Regions from separate parts of the Homo sapiens genome. Here regions 1 and 3 are each linked to region 2. Evidence: promoter capture Hi-C in 16 types of primary human blood cells and fetal thymus (Javierre and others, 2016). All regions are on one chromosome and are shown on one strand. The core of a region is centred on a gene start or on the middle of the fragment in contact, and the rest is flanking DNA. Distances in the headings are between cores, read along the strand shown.

Region 1 (4,762 bases), core at 1,243-3,742, 190 kb before region 2:
GTTTATTGAAAGAAATGTTTACAACATGACACCAACAGAAGGGATCAAAGTGTGTCGTGAAATTGCGAGTCTTCATTCCTTTTTCTTGGTTCTTTGTATTCAAAGATGCTATTTAGTGTGTTCTGTTCTTCATCTTCTCTCTTGTTCGTTTTCCAGGTCTCTTCTACAGAAAAAGACATACCACATCTGGTCACATAGCAGCTTGCCTTCTGCCCCAGGGTGAGGACGAACAGAACTGAAGGGAGAGGGCAGGGTTGGGAGTGGGAGGGGAGGCTGAGCCTGCTCCTCACCCGGGCACCTGGGCTCACTTACATTTGACCCTTTCTTGCCAGGCCTCTTGAGGCCTCTGCCATGAGCTGTCTTGGCCCGGAAGCTAGATACATCATCATAGCTCTCCCGAGTGTTCCACTTTGAGCCTTTCTTCTTTCCACCAAAACCAAACTTCTGGTTTTTATACCGTCGTTTAGCACTGGGCCTGGAAAAGAATGGTCCTAGACATCACTACAGCACTGTAAAGCCTGATGAACCTGATGGCCCAGCAATGCTCTCAGTTTCCTTTCTATAAGCAAAGCCCCTTAGGCACGTCTGTAACCCAGAATCTCATCCTTGGCCCCACAATCCTATGCTACAGCCTCTCTAGACAAACTCATCTAGCTCACCTATTTACAGTTTTGACCACCAGGGCAGGAAAATAAAGCAAGAAGCAGGGAAGGCTCTACATATATTACATGGCTTCCTGCTGTCTTTAGAAAGCTTTCTATTTTAACCAAATCTTATTAAATCACCCTCAGTTGTGTCTATTCCTCTCAAGGGTAAATACATGCAGTTAACATCCAAATGTAATATGTTACATTTGTAACATTCAAATGTAATGTAATGAATACGTTCAAATGTAAACATTCAAATGTAATTATAGGCATTCAAATAACATTCAAATGGAATAACATTCAAATGTAAAACTGGTCATCCAATAGGAATCTTGAATTCAGCATCTCCAAATTCACATCATCTCCTGGACTGGCTCTGCTTCCTGTACATATGCCCTCACTTGAGGCTGGCGCTGCTCCCACCAACCCAGACACACAGGCTAAACATGTGGGAGTCAGCCTTGGTTCTTCTCTCACTCTTTATACCCAATTCAATTACTGAGTCCTGCTCATTTCACCTCTTAAATGTTTCTTCAATCCTTATCTCGACTTTTGCAATAGTACCCTTGTCAATTTCCCAGCTTCCCTCAAGTCTGTCACTTATACAAAATCCACTGTGATCTTTTTAAAAACATGAATATAACCTGCTCATTACTGTTAGTACAACCTACAACCTAGTCTCTCCACTGCCTTCTGACAAAGCCCAAGCTCCTCAACAAGGCAAACCCACAGCCCAGGTCCCCCCAAACACATTGCACCCCTCCTTGCTTTGCACTGTATTCCCAGTGACACCAAGGGCTTACTGTTCCTCACAAAACCCTGAGGTTTCACATCTCGATGGCTTTGCTCGTTCAAGCTCTTACTTCTTCCCAAACCCAGCTTCTCTTCTATTCTCGTGGTTAATTCCTACTCATGCTTCAAGCAATGCTCAAGTCGAACGCTCCTCCAGAAATCCACCCCAGACCCTGTCAGGTATTTATAAAAGCTGACTCAGTACTAATCCCCAAATGCCTCTATCATAGCACTTACTATCTTACATGGAAATTATCATTTCCCCTAGGCCTGGTATCCAGGTATGCAAAAAAGCAGACTAGAAAAAACAATGAGAGCCCACATTCTCTCTTTCAGTCTTCATACTATGAGGCAGACACTATTTCCTCAACTTAGCAGATGAGGCAATTAGCATTTAGAAAGGCATGGTAACTCGTTCAAAACTGCCCTCCTACTGAGTGGTAGAGTCGGGATCTGAACCCTAGGTCTGAACTCTCAACCATCGCACTGTGTGATGGGGAATCAACTTTACTCAGCATTCACTTAAAGGGTGCCACATACTTAAAAGTACCTTCTTAGGATGGGTGCAGTGGTTCACACCTATAATCCCAGCACTTTGGGAGGCTGAGGTGAGTGAATCACTTGAGGCCAGGAGTTCACAACCAGCCTGGCCAACATGGTGAAACCCTGTCTCTACTACAAATACAAAAATTAGCTGGGTGTGATGGCAGGCACCTGTAGTTCCAGCTACTCAGGAGGCTGAGGCACAGAATTACTTGAGCCCAGGTGGCAGAGGTTGCAGTGAGCCAAGACTGTACCAGTGCACTGTAGCCTGAGTGACAGAATGAGACTGTCCAAAAAAAAAAGAAGTTTAAAAAGTGCCTTCTTTTACTCTTCAAAGACTGACATGGCTAAAAGGGCCCATCACACAGTCATAGGGGTCCTGGCCCCAGGCAGCAGCTGCACTCTCTGGACTCTATGGCTGCGCCGGTGGAGGTGCTATGTCTGCCATACTCGTGACCTGTGGCCCCATCGCACCTCACAGAACCAAAGAAACCATGCCAAAACCCTTCTCACCCCTTCCTCATCTGCTGGCCTTTGGCTCCTGCCTTCTTGCGCTGTGCCAGAGGTTTCTGATCTCCCTCAAGGAAATCCAGTTTATCAGAGAAGCCTGTAAGTGAAGAAGTAGTTTTGATCAGCACCATTGTATTTTAAGAATAAAAGTTTAAACCACCATATGAGGCTGTTATTTGCTACACTGATTTTAAGAGTCACATCCTGCTCTCCAACACCATTCCCAAAACTTTGATCCGACAGGTCCACATCAACCAAGAAGGCTCCAAAGCACTAAGTGTTCAAATCAACTCTAAAGTACCTGCTACCCTCGTTCCCCTATTAGAGATGTACCAACCTTTCTGATATTTCTTAATAGCATTCATCATATGGGCTTTCTCCTGCTGCCTCTTCTGAAGAACCTCCGTTTGCACCTGTGATATGAACACAAGGACCGTTACAGCCATTCCATACCATTACTCCAGTGTCTACATTGTCTTAATAGCAACACCATGATTAATACCACTACCCTCTGACATTTACTACGTGCCAAAAACTGTGTTAGGGACTCTAAGTATATTCTCAGATCTAGGTATATTCTTCATAGATGAAGATATATCTGTCTCATAACAATCCAGTGAAGTTGAAATTTGTGTTATCCCCTAAACTGAAGCACAGGGAAGTTAACTTGCCCAAGTCGCACAGTGAAAAAATGCACAGCCAAGATGACCCAGGCTGTTTGACTCCAAAGCCAGCACTCACCCTATTATACAATCCTGCCTACAAAACTGAAGTAAATCATGTTTAAGACTACATCGATTTTTCGCATCACATTTGGACAGATTAATTATCTAACTCACTGTTACTAGGCATGAAAGTACCAAAAGGAAGAGAAAAAAACAATGTCCCCAGGTAAAGAAAAGAAAAAAGTTTGAAGGATAAAAGGAGACACTTTATAATACTCTAACAGAGGGTTTCTCAATCTTGATACTGCTACAGTGTGGAGAGAATAATTCTTTGCTGGGGGGTAGGGGCCTGTCCTACACTGTAGGATATTTAGCGGCACCCCTGCCCTCTACCTACTAGATGCCAGTAGTACCCTCCCTCCCAAATTTGACAACTAAAAATATCTCCAGGCAGTCACAGAAAACTCTTGGGGAGCAAATTCACCCCCAGTTAACAAACTCTTCCCCAGTGTTTCCTTAAATTAGGAACAGTGAACTAATAGGCCCAAGTGAGTTTGTCTTTGCTTTTGGTAACTTTGGCTATGTTAAATTAATTACTGGTGTCTTTGAGAGAATCTCAGCCATCCACCTCCAGATCAAAGAAATAATAAATCCGCAGCAGGCCTTTTGTAGAGGACAGGATCCCAGCCTATTCCTACTTTGCTGAGAATGTATCAGTGAAATGACTCCAAACGTGGACAAGAGTTCTGCAGCCCAGATCACAAGTGCTTATGTCCAAATGTTGACGAAGTCTTAACACCCACACCAATCTTCCTCACATTCATTTCTTCCCACAATCCTAACTTTAAAATCTGTCATCTTCTTTCTTAGATGACCATGAAATAAAAAAGGAAAACCAAGAAAAGTTTTAGGGTATGCCTGATCTGGTGTTACATTAGAACTCAGACATTCATAGTTCAAACACGCAGGCAATCTTTCAGATTGGATGACAATCATTATGATAATTTCTTCAGGTACGTGATTATCACATAGATCAGTGAATCCCAAACCAGGATGCATTTCAGAATCACCTGGAAAGCTTTTGGGGAAGAGGGGAAAACAGGCACAGATTCCTGGGGATTCTGAAGTCTAGAATTCTGTTTTGAAAAATTTCCCCTGGTGATTTTGCTATAAGGTCAGGTTTGGAAACCACTCATCTGGACCCAGTGTACAGATGTGAAAACTAACGCCCAGAGAGGTGATTGGCTCACCTGCAGTCACCATACTACTCCTGGGGAACCACTCATGTCCAGGCAAGATTGTGCTCATGAATACCAGCACATACACTGAGAGACGGTAAATACATGATCAACACACAGTTCCGTTCAGTTCAGGGGACCAAGTCAGACCACGGCAATCTCATCTAACACACACTCCGCCTCTTCCTGTTCCCTGCACACTTTTCTTCTCACCTTCTTCCCGTATTTCCTAAGTGCTCGCAGTTGCTTAGCTTTTTCAGACCTCTCCATGGCAGCCTGTTTAGTCTGCAGCTTCTGTCGAATCTACAACACAAAATGCTGTCAGTTCATGTCATTTGAATCTGGAATGACCACTACTTAGGATTCG
Region 2 (4,416 bases), core at 1,178-3,677:
CTGATCCTGCTCTCTCCAAAGTCATCGGTAATTTGATTTTCAATGGCCAAATCTGACCCTTTCTGTCATCATTCCACTTGACTACATATATTAGGGTATCTCCCACTTCAAGATCCATGTCTGGATAATTTCCATTGCCTTCCTTCATTCATTTATTATTATTATTATTTTGAGACAAAGTCTCCCTCTGTCACCCAGGCTAGAGTGCAGTGGCGCGACCTCGCTCACTACAACCTGCGCCTCCCAGGTTCAAGCGATTCCCCTGCCTCAGCCTCCCAGGTAGCTGGGATTACAGGTGTGCACCACCACACCTGGCTAATTTTGTACTTCTAGTAGAGACAGGGTTTCGCCACATTGGCCCGACTAGTCTTGAACTACTGACTTCAAGTGATCTGCCCGCCTTGGCCTCCCAAAGTGCTGGGATTACAGGAGTGAACCATGACAACCTGCCCAAATCCTTTATTTTTAAATGTACAAATTCCCTGAGGCTATACCCTTTATCCTTCTCTATAGCTACCACCAGAAGTTGCAAATTATTGCCATATCCCCCCCCTCAGATGTTTTATTTGGTCCTTCCCTACACAGAAACCCCACAGGTACCACAATGCCTAGCAGATGAAGTCCAAAGTCTTTAGCTTAACATTTAAGACCCTGACCAACTTGACATGAGACAACCTTTTCTATGTTTTCTGGGAATTCCCCACCTCTAACCTAAGCATATCCAATTCCTTATTTTCCAAGGTAATTGGAAATAGAGAATGCAAAGGCTTCAAGTCAAAGATAATAACATTATCTGTAAGCATCGGAGTGGACTTTAAGCTAATGACTGAAAATGATTTTTCCAGCCTCTTTCTGGGACAGTATAGCGTATTGTTTAGATTGCAGGGATTAGTCAGATAGTTTGAATCCTGGGCTCCCCTACTTATTATTGGCTGCATGCCTTTGGGCAAGTTTCTAATCTTTCTGACCCAGTTTCTTTTTTCTGTAAAGGGAAGATGGGGTATCTATCTGCCTTATGGGATTAAGGATTGAACTCGATAATGTATGTAAACTTTTTTTTTTTTTTTCAGACAGAGTATCGCTCTGTTGCCCAGGCTGGAGTGCAGTGGCTCGATCTCGGCTCACTGCAAGCTCCGCCTCCCGGGTTCACGCCATTCTCCTGCCTCAGCCTCTCGAGTAGCTGGAACTACAGGCGCCCGCCACCAAGCCCGGCTAATTTTTTGTATTTTTAGTAAAGACGGGGTTTCACCGTGTTAGCCAGGATGGTCTCGATCTTCTGACTTCGTGATCTGCCCGCCTCGGCCTCCCAAAGTGCTGGGATTACAAGCGTGAGCCACCGCGCATGGCCTGTAAATTGTTTTAACACAGTAGTTAGATGGTCCATAAATGGTACCATTATTACTTTTATGATTGCTGCTCCACCTCTGAGCACATTCATACAATTCACTCAAGTCATTATTAGAGCACTAGATTGAGTGCGAGTCAGACCTGGATTCCCACAAACTTCTTTGTATGACCTCGGGCACATCCCTTCCCTGGGCCTCCGTTTCTCCATCTGTAAAATATGGATTTGTTGTCGGGGTGGGGAGGCTGCACCACGCACAGGTTAGACTAATGGATCTCTAAGGTCCTCACATCTTTAAAGCCCCAAGGGGATAAGCCACAGTGCCTCCTGTAGGGCAGTCTAAGCTTATCTTCCAGATAGGCAGGTTTGAATACCGATCCTTTTTCTTGACCTTAAGGAATTCATTCACCCTTTTCAACCTCATTTTCCCTGTTTGTAAAACAACAGCAAACGAGACAAACACACGTTACTTCCTTTCTAGCAGGGTTCCTACCCGGCGCCAAGCAAAAGTGGAATGTACCCTAAGTAGCTCTGGCCTTCTTCCTGCTCCCAAGCTTCCCAATTCCGTCCCCTGCCCCGCTGCCGCCCGCGGCTCTCCTTCCCCTTCTAGGAACGGCTCAAGCGCCTTGGGCACTCCATCGGGTTCTGCACCGAGTTCTGCATCATAAATACGACTCTCGTGTAGGATTTAAGTGTGAACTTCTGCAGGTTCTCGGACCCTGAAGCACCCGGGGCCAGACATTCCGAGCTCGCGGCGGTGGAAGGCACGCAAAAGGGCGAACCGAGACGACTCCAGGACGCTGAGGCAGCGCAGGCCCCACCCGGCCCCGCCCTGCCCCGCCCTGTCCCGGCCGGCTTTCCAGTACTAGTCCTCTGGCGCCGGCTCCCAGCCCCTCTCGTACCCTTCAAATCGCGCTCCGCCGCTAGACTCTCGTGATAGCTGAGACTTTCCCCGGAAGGCCCGCCCCCTTCGCCGGAGAGGCCAATGGGCTAGGGCAACGGTTGCGACGGTTGGATTTTGAAGGAGCCAATAGGCGCTCGGAGCGGAGAGTTTAAGAGGCGTAAGCCAGGCGTGTTAAAGCCGGTCGGAACTGCTCCGGAGGGCACGGTGAGAGGTGGTGGGGCTGAGCCGAGGTGGGGCCGTGGCCAGGGGGAGGGGGTGCTAGGCCGGAAGGGGCTGCAGCCGAGGGTGGCCCTGATTTTGTGGCCGGCCAGGAGCGAAGGGGTCCCTTTCTGTCCCCTGAGCACCGTCGCCTCCTTTCCTCCAGGGCTCCGTAGGCACCAACTGCAAGGACCCCTCCCCCTGCGGGCGCTCCCATGGCACAGTTCGCGTTCGAGAGTGACCTGCACTCGCTGCTTCAGCTGGATGCACCCATCCCCAATGCACCCCCTGCGCGCTGGCAGCGCAAAGCCAAGGAAGCCGCAGGCCCGGCCCCCTCACCCATGCGGGCCGCCAACCGATCCCACAGCGCCGGCAGGACTCCGGGCCGAACTCCTGGTCAGTGAGGTGCCAAAGGAACTGAGTGAGAGCAGCCTTCATACTTTCTCCCTGGGGAGCCTGGTCAGACTGTCTTCTCTTTCTCCGCCCCAGGCAAATCCAGTTCCAAGGTTCAGACCACTCCTAGCAAACCTGGCGGTGACCGCTATATCCCCCATCGCAGTGCTGCCCAGATGGAGGTGGCCAGCTTCCTCCTGAGCAAGGAGAACCAGCCTGAAAACAGCCAGACGCCCACCAAGAAGGTATGTGTCCCAGAGGGGCTTAAGGCACGGGACCTGACTGTTCTTTGGATAATACCATCTTGCTCCTTCACTACCCTTTATGCCAGGAACATCAGAAAGCCTGGGCTTTGAACCTGAACGGTTTTGATGTAGAGGAAGCCAAGATCCTTCGGCTCAGTGGAAAACCACAAAATGCGCCAGAGGGTAAGACCCGAAGTTCCTGGTTCCTGGAGGGAGGTGTCAGTTCATCTCCAGGGCTGAGCACAGATATCTGTCTCCTCTTCCTATCTAAGATTGAGGGCAAGGGAGGTGTTGATTTTCCCAGCGTCTAGACTCACTCCGTTGCCACAGGTTATCAGAACAGACTGAAAGTACTCTACAGCCAAAAGGCCACTCCTGGCTCCAGCCGGAAGACCTGCCGTTACATTCCTTCCCTGCCAGACCGTATCCTGGATGCGCCTGAAATCCGAAATGACTATTGTAAGTGCATCCTTATCCTCGCCTCATGCATGGAGAAAGAGGGCCTGGGACCACACAAACAAGGAAGCTCATGCTCTTCTCTCCACCTCTGACAGACCTGAACCTTGTGGATTGGAGTTCTGGGAATGTACTGGCCGTGGCACTGGACAACAGTGTGTACCTGTGGAGTGCAAGCTCTGGTGACATCCTGCAGCTTTTGCAAATGGAGCAGCCTGGGGAATATATATCCTCTGTGGCCTGGATCAAAGAGGGCAACTACTTGGCTGTGGGCACCAGCAGTGCTGAGGTGCAGGTGAGACGTGTCCAGTGCTGTCATTCTCACCAGTCCCAATGGGCTTGCACAGCTGGAGGATATTAATGCCAAGTCCCAATCTCTGATCCTAGTGGGCTTCTCTCTCTAGCTATGGGATGTGCAGCAGCAGAAACGGCTTCGAAATATGACCAGTCACTCTGCCCGAGTGGGCTCCCTAAGCTGGAACAGCTATATCCTGTCCAGGTCAGTGGTTTTTGTTGGTCTATGGTAGTCTGATATTTGCCCACCCTCCCCTTGACTGTACACCCCTGAACTGAACCAGCTCTGGCTTGCTTGCATTTGGTGCTGCCACAGAACCTGATTCCCTTCTTTCCTCCTCCAGTGGTTCACGTTCTGGCCACATCCACCACCATGATGTTCGGGTAGCAGAACACCATGTGGCCACACTGAGTGGCCACAGCCAGGAAGTGTGTGGGCTGCGCTGGGCCCCAGATGGACGACATTTGGCCAGTGGTGGTAATGATAACTTGGTCAATGTGTGGCCTAGTGCTCCTGGAGAGGGTGGCTGGGTTCCTCTGCAGACATTCACCCAGCATCAAGGGGCTGTCAAGGTGAGTAG
Region 3 (4,788 bases), core at 383-2,882, 140 kb before region 2:
TCACTGCAACCACCGCCTCCTGGGTTCAAGCGATTCTTCCACCTCAGCCTCCCAAGTAGCTGGGATTACAGGCACATGCCATCATGCCCGACTAGGGTCAACATTTTTTAGCTCTCACATATGAATGAGAACACACAATATTTGTTTTTCTGTACCTGACATATTTCACTTAACTTCACGACCTCCAGTTCCATCCATGTTGCTGCAAAAACATGATTTCATTCATTTTTTACGGCCAAATAGTATTCCAGTGGGTATATATACCACATTTTCTTTATTCATTCATCCACTGATGGACACTTAGGTTGATTCCATATCTTTACTATTGGTGGTACAATAAATATGGGGGGGGCGGTGGAGCGCAGGTATCCTTTCAATCTGCTGATTTCCTTTCCTTTAGAAAAGTATCCAGTAATGAGATTGCAGGATTGTATGGTAGTTCTATTTTTAGTTTTTTTGAGAAGTCTACATACTGTTTTCCATAGTGGTTGTACTAATTTACCTTCCCACCAACAGTGTATAAGAGTTCTCTCTTCTCCACATTCTTGCCAGAATCTGTTATTTGTTGTCTTTTTGATAATACCTACTCTAATTGGGGTAAGATGGTATCTCATGGTGGTTTTGATTTGCATTTCCCTGATGATTAGTGATGTTGAGCATTTTTTCATATACCTGTTGGCCATTTGTATGTCTTCTTTTGAGAAATGTCTATTCATGTCCTTAGCCCACTTTTTTTTTTTTTTTGAGATAGAGTTTTGCTCTTGTCACCCAGGATGGAGTGCAATGGTTCAATCTCGGCTCACTGCAACCTCCCCCTCCTGGGTTCAAGAGATTCTCCTGCCTCAGCCTCCCGAGTAGCTGGGATTACCGTGCCTGCCACCACGCCCAGCTAATTTTTGTATTTTTAGTACGGATGAGGTTTCACCATGTTGTCCAGGCCGGTCTCAAACTCCTGACCTCAGGTGATCCACCCTCCTCAGCCTCCCAATGTGCTGGGATTACAGGTGTAAGCCACCACGCCCGCCCCTTAGCCCACTTTTTAATGAGATTTTTAGATTTTTTTGTTTGTTTAATGTTGAATTGTTTGAGTTCTTTGGTATTCTGGATATTGGTCTTTTGTCAGAGCAATAGTTTGCAAATATTTTCTCCCATTCGACAGGTCGTCTCTTCAGTCTGTTGATTGTTTCCTTTGCTGTGCAGAAGCTTTTTAGCTTAATGTCCTGATTGTGGCTTTTTCCACTCAGCTAAATCTTCAAATCCATCCAAGTTGTGTTGTGTATCAATCATAGTTTATTCCCTTTTATTTCTGAGTAGTATTCCATGAAAAACAAATCACAGTTTGTATAGCCATTCACCTATTGTAGGATATTTTTAATTTTTTCCAGTTTTCAGCTATTATAAATAAAGCTGCTGTGACCAATCATATACAGGCTTTTGTGTGGAAATAAGTTTTCATTTCTCTGGGATAAATGCCCAGGAGTATAATTGCTGAATCATATGGTAAGTGTATATTCAGGTTTGTTTTTTTTTAAACTGCCAAGCTATTTTCCAGAGTGGCTGTACCATTTTACATTCTTACCAAGAATGTATGAGACCCAGTTTCTCTGCATCATTGCCAGCACTTGGTGTTGTCACTGTTTTTTATTTTAGCTGTTCTAATGGGTGTGTAGTGATATCTCATCATGGTCCTAATTTTGCATTTTCCTAAATGGCTAATAATGCGGAGTATCTCTTCATGTGCTTACTTGCCATCTGTGTATTTTCCCTGGTGAAATGTCTCCTTATCTTTTGTCTACTTTCTGATTGGATTGTTTGGCTTTTTTACTGTTGAGTTTTGAGAGTTTCTTGTTCGTTCTAGATAATAGCTGACTCTTCAGATTCCAAATCCACAGAGAATGTAGACGTAACCTTACTTCTTCTATTCATTAACAGATGCCTGTGAGGGCTCCTCTCTCATTCTTACCTGGGATCAAGTTTACCTCCCTGTGAGGCTGTGCCCAGGATTGCATGGGGGGAAGCCTTGCGCAACAGCTGGCTCAGCCCTGGTCATCTGTGGCCTTGAAAGCTTCCTGGCCATGACCCTTTTTCTCTTCAGATGTTGCTTACCTTTGATGATCAGTTCCTGCTGACTGCTGCTGAGGATGGCTGCCTGTTCACCTGGAAGGTCTTTGATAAGGATGGCCGGGGAATCAAGCGAGAGAGGGAGGTGGGCTTTGCCGAAGAGGTGCTTGTGACTAAAACAGACATGGAAGAAAAGGTAAGAACTGGATCTAATGAAGAGGGATATGGAATTACTTACCAGACTGCATTCAGATGCAGGTCCAGCACTGGGGCCCTCTACAGCCTGGCTACACCCTATGCCCAGTGCAGACCCCCACGGCTCCCTGCACATCTGCTGTCCCCACAACCAAGCTCTCCTCCTCATTGCCACTGTCCACCCGACTCTGCCTGTCTTTCTGCCATGTGATCATCTTGACTTACACTGTGCTTTGCTTTTATTCTGTGATCTGGTTTTCTCTTCCTACTCTTTGAAACCAAGAATAATGAAACATACAGTTCTCTTATGACCAACAGTTCCTAGCACATGCTGGGCACATGGAAGACAATCAATAAATATTTACAAAAGTAAAGTATGTTCTCATTTAAATCTCACAACATCTCTATGAAGAAGATACTGTCATTCTCCCCATGTTTCAAAAAACAAGTTAGGAGAGCTTGAGGGATGTGTTCAAAGTCAGTGTGCTAATAATTAATAGGACTAGAGTTCTAATCCAGATTTAATCCAGAGCCCCCTCCCTTAATCACTATACCAAAGGGACATCCCTTCCTTCCTGTTGATGCAGTAAACATTCCATAAAGGTGTGTTTTGCAGAGATATGAGTGCATAGCTCTGTGTTACGCTTCCTAAGGGAGAAGCTGAATGGATGATAAACACACAAGGCTCATGGAGGATCGCAAAGCTACACAGTCATTGCTGTTTGTCCAGAATCTTAAGTGTGTTTATTGAACACCTACCATTTGCTAGGCACTGGGGATGCACATGTGAAAAGACAGTTGTGGGCCCTGTGACATGACCAGGAAGCTTACAGTCAAGTGAGGGATAGAAACAAGTAAAGCCATCAGAGCAGCAATACAACACTGCCACAAAGCACGGTGACAAGCCCCTGGCATTCGCTGGAGATCCCTTCCAGAGCTCCCTAGAATTTTCTGCAGGAAAAGCAAAGAGGGAGAAGAGGATGAGGGAGGGGCCCGTGAGAGTGGGGGCCTGACCTGCTGCAGAAGGGACATTTCCTTTTCTCTGTTATCTTTTCTGTTCTTCCCAGAGGGTAGGGGAAGAGGCCAAATAGGAGACAGCAGGCTGAACCAAAGGCCTGAAGGTGCCCAAGCTGGCTTCTGACCACAGCCCCCAGATGGGCCTGACAGTACCGCTGCCAGGCTGGAAATGACTTGTGCATATACCGCTCCTTCTTGAAACTCCCTTCTGTCTTACCATCCTTGTGACCACACTCTGTTCCCTGAAAACCTTTCTGACTCCTCCTCCCCGCTTCTGTCCTGGCTCTTCCTCCGCCTGTCCCTTAAAAAGCATGTTCCCAGAATTCCCAACTCTCTTTATATTCCATTATAGTCTAAGTAACTCTCAGGCCATGATTTACCTTCTCTGCCTAGGATTTACAGAGGGGTCTGCTGTGTACCTGACACTATACTAAGGTCTGGGATTACAGAGATAAAAGACATAAAGCATCCTTTAGCTGATAGCCTGGGAAGAGGGCAGAGTATCACAAAGAAGGGAATTAAACGTGCAGTGGAATGAAGTGTCATGAAAGAACGATGCTGTGGGAGCACAGGGGAAGGAACTTGGCTCAGGCCAGGTGGTGCCAGAGGACATGAGCCTTGCTCAGATCCTTCCAGGACAAATGGACAAGGGCCAGTGAGCAATGAGCAGTGAGTGTGTGCAGAGGGATGAGGGAGTGGTGGTCTGCAAAGCTGCTCCTAGTTAGGTTGTGCCAGAGAGAAGGGCTGAAGATGAAGCTGGAGAGAAACAGGTCAGGGGGGCCTTTTACACCCTGCATTAGGCTGGACATTGTTCATAAGGACCATTCATAAATTTAAGCTGGGGAATGACTTAACATGATTCGCATCTCGGAGAGAATAATCTGCAGCAATGTGAAGAATAGATGGAGGAAGGACACTGAACAAGGACCTCAAACACAGCATGTCAAAGGCCGGGTCATTCCCATGGATAAATATATCCCACTAGCCAGGGCAGACCCCTGGGATCATTGATAAGTATTCATTCAGTGCTGACCATGCTGCTAGTTTTATGCTAGGTTCTGGGGATAAAGCAGAGAAGCAAGACAGGCCAAGCCCCACCCTCAGGTACCGGTCCTTCTACCTAGGAGACAGCCTTCATCCATGATCCTTACCTCTCCACCCCACACCCAGTCAGGCACTATCCTCTCTAAACTCACTCTCTCCAACCTCTCCATTCCTCTCTGGTCCCCTTCCCTACCTCAGTCCAAACCCTGTCTGTCTCTCGCCTGGTCTATGCAGTTGCCGCCCACCCACCCCAGCAACTCATCATCCTGCCTTTGGTCCTTCCTTAATCTAGTCCGTGCTGCGTACCGCCATTGGAGAGATCTTTATAACACCAAAGTCAGCCTGATCGGGTTCGATGAGGACCTTTGGAAGCCCTCTAAGATAAAATCCAAACTTCCTAGCATGGTCTACCGGGCCCCTGATGGTCTGACGCAGTCTTGGCTGCCCCTTCCTATACATCCAACCTGTGCC

The links. The method cuts DNA at HindIII sites, captures the fragments that hold promoters and counts their contacts. A CHiCAGO score of 5 or more calls a contact.
Region 1: a fragment that was not itself captured here is called in contact with the fragment with the promoter of CDC20 in region 2 in 1 of 17 cell types (total B cells); the score reaches 5.1 in total B cells.
Region 3: a fragment that was not itself captured here is called in contact with the fragment with the promoter of CDC20 in region 2 in 1 of 17 cell types (endothelial precursors); the score reaches 5.4 in endothelial precursors.

The regions. Positions count from the first base shown.
Region 1 is chr1:43,164,331-43,169,092 of GRCh38, forward strand. It overlaps EBNA1BP2 (EBNA1 binding protein 2), which reads right to left. Exons shown (of 9, transcript NM_006824.3): 5 at 4,609-4,698; 6 at 2,830-2,905; 7 at 2,496-2,589; 8 at 313-475; 9 at 1-163. The coding sequence ends at 113. Among named protein-coding and RNA genes, the nearest start is that of MIR6733, 5.0 kb to the right of the region's middle. The HindIII fragment of the contact is 3,482 bases long and covers 752-4,233 here.
Region 2 is chr1:43,356,554-43,360,969 of GRCh38, forward strand. It overlaps CDC20 (cell division cycle 20), which reads left to right and starts at 2,428. Exons shown (of 11, transcript NM_001255.3): 1 at 2,428-2,453; 2 at 2,614-2,843; 3 at 2,937-3,085; 4 at 3,172-3,268; 5 at 3,416-3,544; 6 at 3,640-3,836; 7 at 3,946-4,040; 8 at 4,180-4,408. The coding sequence starts at 2,663. It overlaps CDC20-DT (CDC20 divergent transcript), which reads right to left and starts at 2,120. Exons shown (of 4, transcript NR_183650.1): 1 at 1,997-2,120; 2 at 1,489-1,555; 3 at 1,250-1,347. RefSeq lists enhancers at 1,197-1,705, 1,817-1,876, 2,216-2,724 and silencers at 2,167-2,276, 2,467-2,616. The HindIII fragment of the contact is 10,275 bases long and covers 1,898-4,416 here.
Region 3 is chr1:43,213,160-43,217,947 of GRCh38, forward strand. CFAP57 (cilia and flagella associated protein 57) reads left to right here. Exons shown (of 23, transcript NM_001378189.1): 12 at 2,096-2,257. It overlaps LOC105378685 (a long non-coding RNA gene), which reads right to left. Exons shown (of 5, transcript XR_007066041.1): 2 at 2,107-2,234. Among named protein-coding and RNA genes, the nearest start is that of CFAP57, 43 kb to the left of the region's middle. The HindIII fragment of the contact is 862 bases long and covers 1,202-2,063 here.